Linked DNA regions of Homo sapiens: region 2 is linked to region 1. Evidence: promoter capture Hi-C in 16 types of primary human blood cells and fetal thymus (Javierre and others, 2016). All regions are on one chromosome and are shown on one strand. The core of a region is centred on a gene start or on the middle of the fragment in contact, and the rest is flanking DNA. Distances in the headings are between cores, read along the strand shown.

Evidence for each region. Contacts are between HindIII fragments. The CHiCAGO score rates a contact against its expected background, and 5 or more counts as called.
Region 2: a fragment that was not itself captured here is called in contact with the fragment with the promoter of NAA11 in region 1 in 1 of 17 cell types (megakaryocytes); the score reaches 6.3 in megakaryocytes.

Annotation. Positions count from the first base shown.
Region 1 is chr4:79,323,223-79,328,490 of GRCh38, reverse strand. It overlaps NAA11 (N-alpha-acetyltransferase 11, NatA catalytic subunit), which reads left to right and starts at 2,430. Exons shown (of 2, transcript NM_032693.3): 1 at 2,430-3,315. The coding sequence starts at 2,614. The coding sequence ends at 3,303. The HindIII fragment of the contact is 18,990 bases long and covers 1-5,268 here.
Region 2 is chr4:79,572,939-79,577,735 of GRCh38, reverse strand. LINC00989 (long intergenic non-protein coding RNA 989) reads right to left here. Exons shown (of 4, transcript NR_038826.1): 4 at 1,276-2,595. The region is part of intron 1 of LOC107986294 (a long non-coding RNA gene); the gene reads right to left. Among named protein-coding and RNA genes, the nearest start is that of LINC00989, 83 kb to the right of the region's middle. The HindIII fragment of the contact is 249 bases long and covers 2,568-2,816 here.

The DNA.
Region 1 (5,268 bases), core at 1,181-3,680:
AGTTTTTGCATTTTTTGTCTTAGCTACTGTGGTCATTGCAACTGGTAGACCATTCTTCCATGACAGTGGAGTTGTCATCATATTCCTTCTACGATTTTATATGAATAAAGATCACATTATTGTATATTAAAAACCATGCTTATTACTGTTGGTTTTGGTACCATGCCTACTCTGGAATAAGTCAAGTATACTGCCCAACTCTTGAGCATTAAGTCAGCACTATTCTATGTTGAAGGATATAGTATCTGTAATGAACCTGGCTGCATTTAAATTAACCCTGTCAAAGAATACAGTGCACTCAAGTTTCAATAGTCTATGCTTTTTAAAAGAAGAACCCACTACAGAAGAATCAACAAAATGACTCTTCTGGATCATGCTTTTAGAGCTACATCACTACAAATTATAGATCCCCATCCATGGTGTCAGGCACAACATGAAAGAAATTTCTGAACGGAAATAATACTGGTGAATAACTTTTCCAATGTATACAGCCTATCAAAAAATCAGGGAGCTAAAATGCTTACGTTAAATCTTAAAAATATATTAATAGATACTGCCAATTGTCAAAATACAACAAAAATAGTGGCTATTCAAGCTATGTTTCACAGATCACATGGCTCTAGGTTACTCTAGCTATTAAAGGAGTGCGTACCCTCATTGGAAAGAAAGCTGCACACATATTCTAGATGAGTTAAGAGGGTATCCATGACCTGGCTAATTACAACATAATTCATTTTGGTACTTGAGTTCTGAGGTCTGCTAGGAAACTGGGAAGAAAGACTGTACGAGACACACAGATAATTCCATTTGTGCAAGTAGTGCTAATAAAATGTGACTTCCTTGCACTATTAAATACCCCAAATCTTGCTTTATCGAGATGGCATATGATTATTTACTTATTCTTCTTCTTGTTCTGTCACCCAGGCTGGGGTGCAGTCATGCAATCATAGTTCACTACAGCCTTAAACTCCTGGCCTCAAGTGATCCTCCTGCCTCAGCCTCCCAAGTAGCTGAGACTACAGGCATGAATAACCACACCCAGCTAAGATGACATTAAAATTTTTAAATGCATCTACAAATAAAACTTAGGATTTATGACAAAGGTAACAATGCAGTAATATGAAGAAAGGATAATAATCTTTTTTCACAAAATGGTGTAAATGGTGCTATATGAATTGTACATCCACACAGGAAAAGAATATTGGGTCCACTGATACCTTACAGCATACACAAAACTAAATTTCAGTCAATTGCAGATCTAAATATAAAATGTAAAACTAACAATCTTAGAAGAAAATATAAAAGAATGCCTTCAGTCACCATGGAGTATGCAACGATTTATTAAACAGAACACAAAAAGCATTAACCACCAAATTTTAAAACTGGAAAAATTGAACTATATTAAAATTCATGCTTGGTGTCAAAAATCACCATTAAGAAAGGGAAATATCAATCAATAGACAAGAATGATATTCATTACAAATATATCTGACAAAGGACTTATACCCAGAATATATTTTTGATAAAACTCAAAAATTAATGTGAAAAAGACACACAAGTAGAAAAATGAGCAAAAAAATCTGAGCAGCCATTTACAAAAGAGAACACAGTATGGCTAATAAGCATATAAAGTGCTCAACTTTACTACTCATCAGTGCAATGCAAATACAACCACAGTGTAATACTTCTACCCCTACAAAAGAATGGCTAAAATAAAAACAATGGGGAAATAGCAAATGCTGTTGAGAAGGTGGAGCAACCACTCTGAAAAAGTGGCAGTATTTATAAAAGTTGAACATCATTATATTCAATGACCCAATAATTCTAATCCTAGATAAATATGCATTTGTTCCAACTAAAGACAAGTCTAGAATGTTCAGCTACCCTAGGGGTACTATTCCCAAACTGAAAATGACAAAATGGCCAGTAACAGTAGAATTGATAAAAAAAATTGTGACATATTTAGGCAATAGAATATCAAACAAGGAAGAATATAAAGAACCCTCAGCTATACACGAGGTGGCTGAAACTTACAAAGAGTGACTGAAAAAACCTGACACAAAAATAATGCATGCACTATGATTCCATTTATATAAAGTCTGTCGGAAGTCTAGGTAATCGTTATTCTTGGGATGTTGGAAGCAGGTACTGGAAGGGGACAGGAGGGGGGGTTCTGGGATACAATGTTCTTTATTTTCTCTAAGTTCCTGTTATATGGGTTTCTCCAGTTTGTGAAAATTTATTCAGATGTACCCAAATCAAAAAGTTAAAACTGAAACAAAAATAATAATTGCAATGGATCGCGTTATTTAAAACAAAGGCGACCACAATGAACTCCTCTCTCCCCACCCCCTAACCCCTGCGCACGCACACGCACAATGAAGCGAAACCTCATTGGCTGGGATCAGTGACGCACTTCTGAAAGCCGCAGTTTGGCACCATCTTTTCCATCTCCTGCTCCTTCCGCCTTCCCGCCATCCGCCCTCCACACGATTCAGCCCGGTGGTGTTAGCCCCCTGGACTCGATTCCTGAGGCAAACAGTGCCCCTTAAGGTCGGCGACAGCCTCTTCTGGGTTCACTGCAGTCCAACCGGTTCCCTACCCTCTGCCATTATGAACATCCGCAACGCTCAGCCAGACGACCTGATGAATATGCAACACTGCAACCTCCTTTGCCTTCCTGAGAACTACCAGATGAAATACTATTTATATCATGGCCTTTCCTGGCCCCAGCTTTCTTACATCGCTGAGGATGAGGACGGGAAGATTGTGGGCTATGTTCTGGCCAAAATGGAGGAGGAACCAGATGATGTCCCGCATGGCCATATCACCTCACTGGCCGTGAAGCGTTCACACCGGCGCCTCGGCCTGGCCCAGAAGCTGATGGACCAGGCCTCCAGGGCCATGATAGAGAACTTTAACGCCAAATACGTGTCTCTGCACGTCAGGAAGAGTAACCGGCCAGCCTTGCACCTTTATTCTAACACCCTCAACTTTCAGATTAGTGAGGTGGAACCTAAATACTATGCAGATGGGGAAGATGCTTATGCTATGAAGCGGGATCTCTCGCAGATGGCAGATGAGCTGAGACGACAAATGGACCTGAAGAAGGGCGGGTATGTGGTCCTGGGCTCCAGGGAGAACCAGGAGACCCAGGGCAGCACACTTTCTGATTCTGAAGAGGCCTGTCAGCAAAAGAACCCGGCTACCGAAGAAAGTGGCAGTGACAGCAAAGAACCTAAGGAGTCTGTGGAGAGCACCAACGTCCAGGACAGCTCAGAAAGCTCGGATTCCACCTCCTAGAGCATGCTTAAGGTATTCTGTCTTCCCTGACCCAGTACCCCCTTCTCCTAAATCCCTGCATCCTGCCTTGGCCTGCCCAATTCCATCCTGTCTTACCCCATTCTGGCCCTGCGAGATTTTACGGTAAAAACCACCTGGTGACCTTAGGGAGAAGTTAGAGTGAGTTGAGGGAGACTCATTACACGCTATTGGAAGTTAAATAGGATACCAGCTCATGCTGAAAGTAGATTAATTTCAATGAAGAAACAAGCATTTATCCTGCTTTTTGGGCATGAGTTGTATTTCAGGGTAACCACGTAGTTGATGAAAGGCATTTTTTTCTTTATGGAATTCCAGTTAGTAATAATGATAGAAATATAAAATCATCATTTTCCAACTCTTGATGAAATAATGGACCCAGCCAAGAGTCATCAATGGCTAATAGCATTAGGTAAAAGTTGGAGCACTTTGTAATGATGGATCAGACTGACAACACTTGAAGTCAGTGTAGTCAGTCTTCACTAAACGTGGAGACAAATATGTGTCTCCTTATGCAACAGGAAGTGCACAGTACTACCTATGAAATATTCTTTCCAAAAGAAAATTATGAGATCTGACTACCATTTTACAGAAAATAGAGGGACTTGTTAAACTATACCATGATGCAAACAGCCAAATCCAGAATGAGAGGTTTTTACAAAACAAATGACCTGGTTTCTTCAACAAATAAATGGCACACACACAAAAAAAGATGAAGCATTTTCTGTTAAACTTTACAGATACATTAAACTCAACTGCTATGGACATTGTTTGGATACTGATTCAAACAAACCATGTATAAGACATTTTTGAGATAATCAGGCAAAATTTGAACGGGGACTATATTAAGGAATTACTAATAATTTTATTAGAGGAGCTAAATGGTATTGTATTATGTTTAGAAAGTCCTTATCTGTTAAAGATACATACAGAAATAATTATAGCTGAAATAATAGGATGCCTAGGATTTCCTTTAAAATAATCCAGCAAAAAAAGAAGAAAAAGATTGAAAGAGGGAAAATGAAATAAGAATGGCAATGATAATTGTTGGGTTGGGAAATGGGTACTTAGGGGGTTCCTTATGCCATTTACTCTTTCGAATGTGTGAAAATTAGCATGAAAAGTTAAAGAGCCAAAACAATTACTGTACTTTTTTTTTTTTTTTTTGAGACAGAGTCTCGTTCTGTCGCCCAGGCTGGAGTGCAGTGGCGCGATCTCGGCTCACTGCAACCTCCACGTCCTGGGTTCAAGCTATTCTCCTGCCTCAGCCTCCCAAGTAACTGGGACTACAGGCGCCCGCCACCTCGCCTGGCTAATTTTTGTATTTTTGTATCTTTTTTTCTTTTTTTGAGATGGAGTCTAGCTCTGTCGCCGAGGCTGGAGTGCCGTGGCACTGTCTTGGCTCACTGCAAGCTCCGCCTCCCGGGTTCACGCCATTCCGCTGCCTCAGCCTCCCGAGTAGCTGGGACTACAGGCGCCTGCCACCACGCCTGGCTAATTTTTTTGTATTTTTAGTAGAGACGGGGTTTCACTGTGTTAGCCAGGATGGTCTTGATCTCCTGACCTCGTGATGCGTCCGCCTCGGCCTCCCAAAGTGCTGGGGTTACAGGCATGAGCCACCGTGCCCGGCCTAATTTTTGTATTTTTAGTAGAGACAGAGTTTCAGCATATTGGCCAGGCTGGTCTCGAACTCCTGACCTTGTGATCTGCCTGCCTCAGCCCCCCAAAGTGCTGCGATTACAGGCGTGAGCCACCGCGCCCAGCTCTTGTACTTCTTAATACACACTTATGCTAATACTAAGAAACCACTGAAACTAAGTTTTAAAGGATTGGTATGTTAGAAACAACTTAATTGTAATAATATACCACAGTATTTCTTCCATCAAAGGACTTTGTATCGCCTTAGGAATTTCAAGGGTCGGTGAGCTACTGGCAGTTTACAGGCTT
Region 2 (4,797 bases), core at 1,443-3,942, 250 kb before region 1:
GCTCTCTTGTAAAATTTATATATAAAACTAATAAACGTTTAAGCTAACTTCCAAGAAAAATGTTAATTCTTTGTTAAAAATTGGAATAATTGGCATTCTAATAATAAACAATCTATTAAAAAACTCGTTTAGGGTAAGAGAGACTATCCCATAATAGGATTAGGCCAGTCATGTTGAAAATAAGCGAACAATATTTCTATTTATTTATTTATTGAGATAGGATCTCACTCTGTCGCCCAGGCTGCAGTGCAATGGTGTGATCTCGGCTCACTGCAACCTCCACCTCCTGGGCTAAAACCATCCTCCCCCCTCCACCCCCCAAGTAGCTGAGACTACAGGCATGCACCACCACACCTGGGTGTATTTTTTGTAGAGCTGGGATTTTGGCATGTTGCCCAAGCTGGTCTTGGACTCCTGGACTCAAGCGATCTTCCTGCCTCAGCCTCCCAAAGTGCTAGGATTATATGTGTGAGCCAGTGCACCCAGCCATATTTTACTTTTATTCATTGATTTAAATTAATGAAAAGTTGAACTATAATTATTTTATAAAGACATGAGGTTAAAAATCAGGTATCTAAACTCAAAAGCAACTAAATATTAATCTTGTCTGTACACAGGACTTAATAATATGATTTAACTATGCATATGAAAATATAGCACATACAAACCTGTCCACATGAATGAGTTCAAATTGTCACCCCTAAAACTGTCTTTATGCTCTGAGAAAAAAAAAGTATAAAATAAGAAATACACGCTTAAGGGAAAAAATAGTGTGTGATAAACCATGATAATAGATAAACGCGGTTATGATCTCTGTCACACATTCTCATCACAGTCATGTAGACATTTGTGGTTTAATTGTGTTACAATCATCTTTATATTAAAAGGTTGAAGACTGAGTGTAGATATTTTTAATCAAAGAATTTTACCTTAAATAGAAGGAATGACATATACTTGTATGCACATGATGACTGACATCTCTAGTTCCTTTCCGAAAATAAAGCATCTGCTGTCATAATTTGAAAAATAAATAAGCAAAATGTCTGCATTTTGGAGGATACATGAGCAACGCACTGAAAGCATCCCTCTATAGTTTACATCTAGTACAATTTCCAATCAGTAGAGGGCTCCCTCGTCTGTGCAAGGCCCACAGTAAAAATGCACAGTCTATACATGCAGCAGTCACACATCATGTGCGTGTTCGCGCACACACACACACACACTCTGTCTCTCTCTCACACACACCATCTAGATTAATAAAGCTGTCAATTTTCATTGTTTTCAAATCACCTTTAATATCAGTTGAGTTTAAAGCTTAGGGGAAGGAACACACAGGCAGCACCCATTGGCAATATGTTAGAACATTCTCTACCTAAAAATACAGATAGGTGTTTACAAGTTTTCTTCATTTCGCTGTGACATTCCTCAGCTCTGATGTGCATTTGGCTGCTTTCCTGAATTCACACATCTCTCTGCTCATGTGCTTGTGCATTTTGCAGAAGTGTCACTACCCAAGCTTTGCAAAATAACGAACTCAATCTTCTAAGTGACTTTGCTGAGGCTATGTCTTTATTATGCCCTCCAAAACTTGAGAGTCAAAAATAAAAATTAGAAAAATGAAGCAACTAGTAATGTTTGCTTTTGACTGAAGTCACTGAGTCCAGCTGTATTTTTTCCCACTGAAAAATAGATGAAGACATCCTAACTGGGTTGAGTTTTATTTGGGATTTTTTTCCCCTCTCCTTGGCCCGTAGGCTAGCTGATTCACTGATGCACAGTGAAAATGCCAAGAATATGCAAACCTCTCTGGGGTAGAAATTTGTAACAGAAAGGGAATTTCTGGCGGTGTAAAAGCAGGGCTGGAATAATCTCAGACTGTACCCCCAGGCCAGTTTTCGTGATACAGTTAAAAACTGGTTGGGCCGCCGGCAGAATCAACTGTTTAAACATCTTGCTGATTGTTTATGGTAGTTGCCCAATAGATGCTTAAAAACATTGGTTTTCATGGACTTCTGGTGGAAACCTCTTATACCCAGCTGATCCTAGGTTATTATTCATATATTTGCTCAGTAGCCAGATCCAAGAATTCATCTGGAAACTCTCAAAGGAGAGAGAAGAGAAAGAGTCTATGATTTTTCAATTCTAGAATCACCATGTCTGAGAAATTTTTCTTGCTCACTCTTTAATGCTCCCCAGAAGGCCCTCTGCTTAATAATCTCACCAGTTTCTTTATATGTCATATATTTCCATTGTCTACTCTAGCCTGCAGTTTAAAATGGGGACATTTTGAAAGGAATGTGCTGCTTTTTGCCCTTTATCCCACTTGCTCTTGCTGAAGTTCAACCTTGAAATGCCTCATCCCATTAGCTATATGCTTCCGGGCATTTCCAGAAGGCATCTCACATATGCTTGAAACAGGTCAGTCAGCTCTCAGGTGACAACTACGAGATACAACAACAACTTTGGTTCAGGATTAGGAAGCCTGATTATGCCACAGATCTGAACCTTGTTGAGCAATCCAAAACTCCTTCCAGTGAAGCAGATATTTTGATCTCCTCTCCAAAGCTTGTGTTGATCTCTCCATTGGTTTCAAAACTGGAGTGGAAGAAAGAAGCATGATTAATCCTAACTATCTCGGCTCTCCAATCTCAACAGCTATGTACTATGATGTTCATAAAGAAACTAAGATTCAGAGAGGTTAAGCAACATGCAAAAATCATCCATTAGTAAGCGACAGCCCCAGAATTCAAATCCACGCTTTCTAAGTCTTAATCCTGTGCTTGTTTCACGGCTCCTGTAACATTAGATAAGAAGCTTACCCTTGCTCTGCAAGGGTTCATATAAAGATTAGGATACTTCTGCCTATAAAACATGAGATAAAAATATAATGGCCTCATAGACTGAAACGATACACAATTCTAAATAAAAATCAATTCTTTATTTTGATATTCAAAGTCACCTACTCTTTATGACCACTACCCTCATTGCAAATGCCCCTATTCTGATGTGCTTTTCCATTAAATAAGATTTACACCATCCTTCTTTGGAGCCTTTGCTCATGCAGACCTTCTCACATTCCCTCTATTTTATTTCTCATTCATCCAATTCTCATTCATGCTTCAGAACCTTGCCTCTAACACCTTTCACCAATTAGCTCAGGTTTTCCTCTGACAGCTATTGTTGTAAACCTCTCAATTTGCATTTATGCATTCTTCATGTTATTTGGGAATTTTGCAAGTGGATATACAATTTTCACATGTCTGGATAGTAATCTCTTGAGATTATGAGTAGTCTTCACTATATATGTAGATATTAAGTGAGCTTATTTATATCAGATATAGACCATACAATCTCATCACTTATAGATGCTTTTTCACTGTATTGATAGATTAATGCTCCCCTTTAAACATACCTCTAAACTACTCAAACTCTATAAATGTATCTCCATATATCCCTGCAATTCTCTTTTTGAAACTAGAACAAATTAAGGGAATTGTTTCTAAAAATTTGAGCTTGAGGTAGAAAAGAGGAAGATGAAAAAATAATAAGTAACATTTTAAACTTTTTCTTACTCTGTTCTATATTCAGAAAATGTTTTAATGATACAATTTTGACATCAGTAGCAAGACAAATTTCCTTTCTTTTAATCACCAAGTCAAAGAATATTTCCATTGAGCTGGTTTCAATGAACAGAGAACTCATATATTTCCACTGACTAACAAAGGAATATTGACATCAAACATATATATTTAATTATGGATGAATATCAATACATGAGCATGGAGTCCTTAGGAAAATTACAAATGCCGAAGTACTTTGTAGAGTATTGCATAACTGATTTTATCAGGCAGAATAGCGGATGGATCTTATGCTCTAAATATTTAAATTTTGGGGACAACAAGTTTTCTTTCATGGTCATCATTTTTAGAAATCTTTCTATAACTTAGGGAAGTGTTATAAATAATACAGAGTGGGAATATCCTAGGGAGAAATGAGAATTTCTGATTCTAAGAGGGACAGTAAATAATTTCATCTCATGTACCAAATCTGAGTGGTTGGCAGTGGCTGTCGAGACTTTAGAGTGCTATGTTGATGAGGATTCTGGGTCTGGGGCCAGGCTCTGTCATGTCATGAGTGATTAGTAATGTTTGCAATAAATGCAGAATTGTAAGGGAAAGCACATATCATATTTTGCCACTGCTGCTGTATTGCTGAGATTCTGCCATTTTTTTGTTCTTCTTTGGTGTCCAGGAAGGGCTTAGACCCATGAATGTTAACATTATAATGCCATATGGGGACATACAGTAAAAACACATGAAAACCTCCATGTTCGGGGTATGCCTATCCTGGGATATGAATGGTAGTAGATCCTAGGCAGTGTTGTGTGAGTAACCAGATTGCCAAAGTGATGGGGCGAGGGATGGGGAGAAGGCATTTGCTGGTTTCCATGCTGTAAAGACTTTTGCCCTGGCTGATTCCAAGCCACCAATGTGAGGTCATTAAACTCAGAGCTGGAAAGACATGTGTATAGCCCAGGCCAGTATGAGGAGGCTACAGCCAACCAGTAATTATAAGTGAACTTCTAGGGTTCAGGGTGCTGAGTAAACCCTGGGCCATAGAATGGAGGATGGACATAGGGATCCAAGGAAGGACCAGAAGGCCATAGACAGATCAGCTGTGTGCAGCTGGGGAACAGTATCAGCTATAAATCAGAGCTCAGGCCAACATTTCAAAGTTATAACAACATAAGAATCAGTTTCAATGCCACCCTCCAAAAACATACATTTTACCTTATCT